Linked DNA regions of Homo sapiens: region 1 is linked to region 2. Evidence: promoter capture Hi-C in human tissues and cell types (Jung and others, 2019). All regions are on one chromosome and are shown on one strand. Each heading gives the region's core, a stretch centred on a gene start or on the middle of the fragment in contact. The rest is flanking DNA. Distances are from core to core; before and after follow the strand shown. Region 1 overlaps C2CD3 (C2 domain containing 3 centriole elongation regulator). Region 2 holds the start of DNAJB13 (DnaJ heat shock protein family (Hsp40) member B13).

Region 1 (3,434 bases), core at 367-2,866, 160 kb after region 2:
TCAGAATGTCTAAGGTGCAGAAAACCAGTGTGTCTCTTACTTCCATCTGTAATTTTACTGGAGGCGAGTCGAACAACCTCAGTGATCAAAGCTGTCTTTCCCAATCCGCTTTCCGAAAAGCCCACAGGAAAGTGATATTCTACAAAGAAAGTGCTAAAAAGAAAAAAAAAGTGATTAAAAACTAACCAAACAATAAACCTAATTTCCGTCTGATAAATCCAACATATATTTGAAATCTTACTTTCAGGACCTCTAGTACTCAGAGGCCCTACCTCTTCTTCAAAGCCTTCCACCAACCCTGTCTGAGAGAATCAAAGGCTCCCTTTCTTGTGTTCCCACAGCAATTTTAATACAAAACATCTATTTTGGGCCCTAAAGCTTTATGTTATAGATAGCCATTTAAATGTTTCTCTCTCCTGCTAACTGTAAGATATGTAAGAACAGAGTCTGTATCTTAATTTTCTTTAGTCCCATACTTACTTACACAGTTCTTGGGATATAGCAGGGATTCAATATATTTCTGTAGATTAAATGATGCATATGAAAACACATCCCAAATCACAGTATTATGCAATTGTTGATTATTACCATCAGACACACTTTCCAAAAATGTCAAATTTAGCTTTCTCATGTTAGAGACATACCGCTTTTTTGCTGTAGTCACCTTAGGTGGTGGACCAGCATAGCTTTTTTTGCCAGGGGTCATCTGAGGACTATCTGGAGGAACTCCCATGGTTTCGATGATGATTCTGACTGAATGTGTTCTACCCAAAAGGGCCAGTCTATCCACACTTAGTGTCATCGTTTGGGCATCTTCTGGAGTTTCTGAGAGCATCTGTTGTTCAACCAAATTTCTGAAAGGAGTTCACACAAGCAGTGAGGCATACTGCTACAGGCTTCACATGAAACAATCTAGTTTGCACAGGCAAGATGAGGAAAAAGGGAGGGCAGCAAGTTTTTATTTTTTTATTTTTATTTTTGACACAGGGTGTTGCTCTGTCACCCAGGCTGGAGTGCAGTGGCACGATCATGGCTTACTGCAGCCTTGACCTCCTGGGCTCAAATGATCCTCCCACCTCAACTTCCCAAGTAGCTGGGACCACAAGCATGGGTCATCACACTTGGCTAATTTTTGTATTTTTTGTAGAGATGAGATATTACTATGTTGCCCAGGCTGGTCTTGAACTCCCGGACTCAAGCAATCCTCCTGCCTCAGCCTCCCAAAGTGCTGGGATTACAGGTGTGAACAACCACACCCAGCCAAGTATCTTGACTCACAAGTTATCAAGGATTGGAAACAGCTTTTATTATCAGAATTCTGGTCCTATAGTACAAGAAATCTCAAAAAATGTAAAAAAAAAATATAATCTAAAGGTTTGAGAGTGTATATTCAGGGTAATTTGAATCTATGCTCCCAGGTAAAAAAAAAATTTAAAAATACTATATAGATATATACACACACACACACACATACATACATATATATATACATACATATATATACACACACTTATACACACACAACATATATACACACACATACATTATACAATACATATGAGTACAGAAACTGAAACTCCAAATTTAGGTTTTTCTAGAAGGGACACAGACCTTATTTCAGTTACCCACTATTCTAATGTAACTACTATTGTCACTTTTGTGTATTCCTTCTCATTTGCTTTCCTTATGCATATTTTCTACACAGTTGTGATCACAGTACACATACAACCTAGAATTCTGCTTTCTTCCTTAACCATTTAAATTATACCTATCTTGGTAGAATCAAAAATATGAAAACGACCATACTGCCAAAAGCAATCTACAAATTCAGTGCAATTCCCATCAAAATACCCTCATCATTCTTCACAGAACTAGGAAAAAAAATGTTAAAATTCATATGGAACCAAAAAAGAGCCCACATAGCCAAAGCAAGATTAAGCAAAAAGAACAAATCTGGAGGCATCACATTACCTGACTTCAAACTATACTATAAGGCCACAGTCACCAAAACAGCATGGTATTGGTATAAAAATAGACACATAGACCAATGGAACAGAATAGAGAATCCAGAAATAAAGCCAAATACTTATAGCCAACTGATCTTCAACAAAGCAAACAAAAACATAAAGTGGTGAAAGGACACCCTATTCAACAAATGGTGCTGGGACAATTGGCAAGCCACATGTAGAAGAATGAAACTGGATGTTCATCTCTCACCTTATAAAACTATCGACTCAAGATGGATCAAGGACTTAAATCTAAGACCTCAAATCATAAAAATTCTAGAAGATAACAATGGAACAACCCTTCTAGACATGGTTTAGACAAAGACTTCATATCCAAGAACCCAAAAGCAAATGCAACAAAAACAAAGATAAATAGATGGGACTTAATTAAACTAAAAAGCTTCTGCACAGCAAAAGAAACAGTCGGCAGAGTAAACAGACAACCCACAGAATGGGAGAAAATCTTCACAATCTATACATCTGACAAAGGACTAATATCCAGAATCTATAAGGAATGCAAACAAATTAGCAAGAAAAAATCAAACAATCCCATCAAAAAGTGGTCTAAGGACATGAATAAACAATTCTCAAAAGAAGATATACAAATGGCCAACAAACGTATGAAAATATGCTCAACATCACTAATGATCAGGGAAATGCAAATCAAAACCACAATGCGATACCACTTTACTCCTGCAAGAATGGCCATAATAAAAAATTAAAAAAAAAAAGAATGTTGGTGAGGATGTGGTGAAAAGGGAACACTATTACACTGCTGGTGGGAATGTAAACTAGTACAACTACCATGGAAAACAGTGTGGACATTCCTTAAAGAACTAAAAGTAGAACTACCATTTGACCCAGCAATCCTACTTCTAGGTATCTACCCAGAGGAAAAGAAGTCACTATATGAAAAAGATACTTGTACTTGCATGCTTATAGCAGCACAATTTGCAATTGCAAAAATATGGAACCAGCCTAAATGCCCATCAATCAATGAATGGATAAAGAAATTGTGGTATACATATATGTGTGTATATATATACACACACACACGTATATATATACACACACATATATACGTGTGTGTATATATACACGTGTATATGTGTATATACACGTGTATATGTATATATACACACGTGTATATATACACACGTGTATGTATATATACATATACACGTGTATATACACATATACACGTATATATGTGTATATACACATATACACGTATATATACACATATACGTGTATATGTATATATACACATATATACGTGTATATGTATATATACGTGTGTGTGTATATATATATGAATATATATATATGAATATATATATGAATATATATATATGAATATATATATATGAATATATATATATGAATATATATATATGAATATATATATATGAATATATATATATGAAT
Region 2 (3,549 bases), core at 645-3,144:
AATGTTCTAATGCTGCTCTTTTTCTTCCTAAGAAGAAAAAACAAATAGAAGTTAGCTGGGTTGAGGCGAGGGTCTGTGGTGGGTGGGGTGGGAGGTTCTGAGCAGAGGTAGCAGCAGAGGTGAATGAGGAGAGGGGATGGCTGGTTTGGGCAGTGGCAGGCACTGCAGTCCATTCTGACAAGCAGTGGGTGCGTGTAGGGCAGTGGTGAGAGCTCAGGTGGAAAGGGAGGCACCAGATCACAGAGGGCCTGTGTGCCATGGTAAGCAGTTTGGAGTTCACTCGAAGTAATGAGGAGTGTGGGCTTTGCAGAACAGAGACAAGGCAGGCAGGCCCGCGAGGAAGTTGTTGTGGTCTTGCTGAAAGATGAATCCAGAGCTGGGCCCTGATTATGAGGAGGAAGAGCAGAGGAGCTGGGCTTGAGAGGTTGTCTAGGAAGCAGAATGGACTGAGCTTGGTGACCAGTTGGATTTGGGATGTGCATGGAAAACAGGGCTCTGCTGTACTCAGAGAGGTGGAGCATAACTCCCTCACTGTAAGGGTGGGCCGCACAGTGACTGCCTTCCAAAGAGTGCAATACAGCAAGTGGGGAAGGAGGGCTGGCGCGGTGGCTCACGCCTGTAATCCCAACACTTTGGGAGGCTGAGGTGGGTGGATCACTTGAGGTCAGGAGTTTGAGACCAGCCTGGCCAACATGGTGAAACCCCGTCTCTAGTAAAAATAACAAAAATTAGCCGGGCATGGTGGCACATGCCTGTAATCTCAGCTACTTGGGAGGCTGAGGCAGGAGAATCGCTGGAACCCGGGAGGCAGAGGTTGCAGTGAGCTGAAATTGTGCCACTGCACTCCAGCCTGGGCGATGGAGTGAGACTCCATCTCAAAAAACAAAAACAAACAAACAAAAAGAAAAACACCAAACAAATTCCAATTGCAGGACATTCTACAAAACACCTGACCATTATTACTTAAACTGTCAAGGTCATCAAAAACATGGAAAGTCTGAGAAACTGTCACAGTCAGGAGGCACCAGAGGAGATGCAACAGCTAAGTGTAACGTGGCATCCTGGATGGGGTCCGGAACAGAAATAAGATATTAGGTTAAAACAACTAGTAAATCTGAATAAAATGTGGATTTTAGTTAATAATAATGTATCAATATTGGTCATTATTTGTGACAAATGTACCATACTAATGTAAGATGTTAATAATAGGGGAATGTGAATGCAGTGGCTCACACCTGTAATCCCAGCACTTTGGGAGGCCAAGCCGAGCCCAAGAGTTCAAGACCAGTCTGGGCAACATGGTGAAACCCCATCTCTACAAAACATACAAAAATTAGCCAGGCATGGTAGTGCACGCCTGTGTCTCAGCTACTTGGAAGGCTGAGGTGGAAGAATCCCTTGAGCCTGGGAGGTTGAGACTGCAGTGAGGTGTGATCCTGCCACTGCCCACCAGCCTGGGTGACAGAGTGAAGACCCTGTCTCAAAAACATGATAATGATAATAATAATAATAAAATAGGAGAATGTGGATGTGAGGTATATGGGAACTCTCTGTACTGTCTTCTCAACTTTTCTAAACTCTAAAACTGTTCTAAAATAAATGTATTTTTAAAAAATTAGCCAAATGCATTTCTTCTAAAACCTTTTTATTAAAACTAATTACTGCTCTCTTTAAAAACAAAAACAAAATAAAACAGAGCCCTGTGAGTCTTCAATTTCCGAGTTGAGTGACCTTTCACAGGGTCGCAGAATCAGCCCCAGCTCTCCCCCAGTCCTTTCACTGACTCCTCTCTGTGGCAGAGCTGAAATTTGTTTAGGGAAGTGGGACTACAACTCCCAGAGTGCACCTGTGCGGTTGTCAGGAGCAACCAAGGAAGCCAACTAACAGCCTTGCTAGAGTCTGAGGACTATCCAGGGCCTGACTGCCAGCTAGCCAGCCATGGGCCAGGATTATTACTCTGTGCTCGGGATCACTCGCAATTCAGAGGATGCCCAGATCAAGCAGGCGTAAGTTGGGGTGGGAGCCAGGCCTTAGGGGTGTGCTGGGGCAGGCCCTGCCCTCTTCTCTTCCAAAACGAGCTTTCCTGCACAGCTTAGCGCAGACAAGGTAAACCTTGTTCCTCCTTTCACTTCTTGCATACCTGTATCCTGGCTTTGGTCTGGGTCAGGGCCCAGGTTGGAAATTTGAACTCTTTAGTTCCTCAATCTGCTCCCAACCCATCTCCCTTTATGCTCCATGCCCTATATCCTCTCCTGGGTGCCTTGCTTTTCCCAGCAATGAAGTGGGGACAAAGGAGCCATTTGAACTTTATCTTGAATATTATGGAGAACCAGAGGCTTGTGAACAAGGGAGTGGCCAGGCCAGATGGATGTTTTAAATTCAATTCTGGCCATGATGGAGGTTTTCAGCATTGACTAAACTACATTCCTGAATACTTCCATCGGATCTTAAGGACGTTCTGGCTCGTTCCTAAGAAAGCCTACAACAGGAGTCAGTACATTTTTCTGAAAACATGTTTTTGTTTTTTGTTTTGAGACGGAGTCTTGGTCTTGTTGCCCAGGCTGGAGTGCAATGGCGTGATCTCGGCTCACCGCAACCTCCACCTCCTGGGTTCAAGCGATTCTTCTGCCTCAGCTTCCCAAGTAGCTGGGATTACAGGCATGCACCACCATGCCCAGCTAATTTTGTATTTTTAGTAGAGATGGGGTTTCTCCTTTTTGGTCAGGCTGGTCTCAAATTCCCGACCTCTGGTGATCCACCCGCCTCAGCCTTCCCAAGTGCTGGGATTATAGGTGTGAGTCACCGCACCTGGCCAAAAACATGTTTTTTTTTTTAACAAATATTTATTGAGCGTCTACCACAAGGGTTGAGAGGGTACTTCACTCCTGCTGCAGTGGTAGCAGCTGGAGATAAATGTCGGAATCCGACATCGACACTCCCTTACCTCATGCAGCTAGATTTTGTTGCTGAATAGATGTTGAATAAGTCACCACAACTGTGATGAGTGTTACAGAAGAGGAAGTATGGGGGGCTGTGGAAGTTATCTTGGAAGGAGAGAGACCCTTTAGGAGGCTGTTCGTGGTAATCAAGGCAAAAGATGAGGCCAGAGAAAGGGGAGGGAATGGACTTGGTAATTAAGTGGATCACTGGAGGGTGAAGAAAAGAGGAGTCCAGGATAACTCAATCAATTAAGTTAGGCAGTGACAATAGGTGTATGTTTTGAGTGTGTAGGTGCTGTTCTGAGAACTTTCCATCACTGTTTAACCCTCACAACAGCCCTGAGAATTAAGTGCCATTATTATCCCACAAGTGCACTAGTAAATGGTGGAGCCAGTGTTCAGATATCAGGCCTCCCAGAGTTGCCAGTCATGGGCCTATTCCTGGGCCAGGTCCTGTAGGGGATCAGTGGCATAAGTGGAGAGTCTGCGGTGTTGGAGAAAAAAGACACAAACTCATGAAAGGATCTGAGAACAATTCAGGACAGTGTATGATGTCACCCACTCTTCGGAGCATCTCATTGACCAGAAGGACCCATCCAGGGAAAGGTAA

What was found. Contacts are between HindIII fragments. The study calls those that stand out against the background at their distance.
Region 1: a contact is called between a fragment that was not itself captured here and the fragment with the promoter of DNAJB13 in region 2, in 1 of the 25 tissues and cell types used here (aorta).

Annotation. Positions count from the first base shown.
Region 1 is chr11:74,113,740-74,117,173 of GRCh38, forward strand. C2CD3 (C2 domain containing 3 centriole elongation regulator) reads right to left here. Exons shown (of 33, transcript NM_001286577.2): 10 at 645-854; 11 at 41-153. Among named protein-coding and RNA genes, the nearest start is that of C2CD3, 56 kb to the right of the region's middle. The HindIII fragment of the contact is 4,899 bases long and covers 1-3,434 here.
Region 2 is chr11:73,949,132-73,952,680 of GRCh38, forward strand. It overlaps DNAJB13 (DnaJ heat shock protein family (Hsp40) member B13), which reads left to right and starts at 1,895. Exons shown (of 8, transcript NM_153614.4): 1 at 1,895-2,006. The coding sequence starts at 1,939. The HindIII fragment of the contact is 16,389 bases long and covers 1-3,549 here.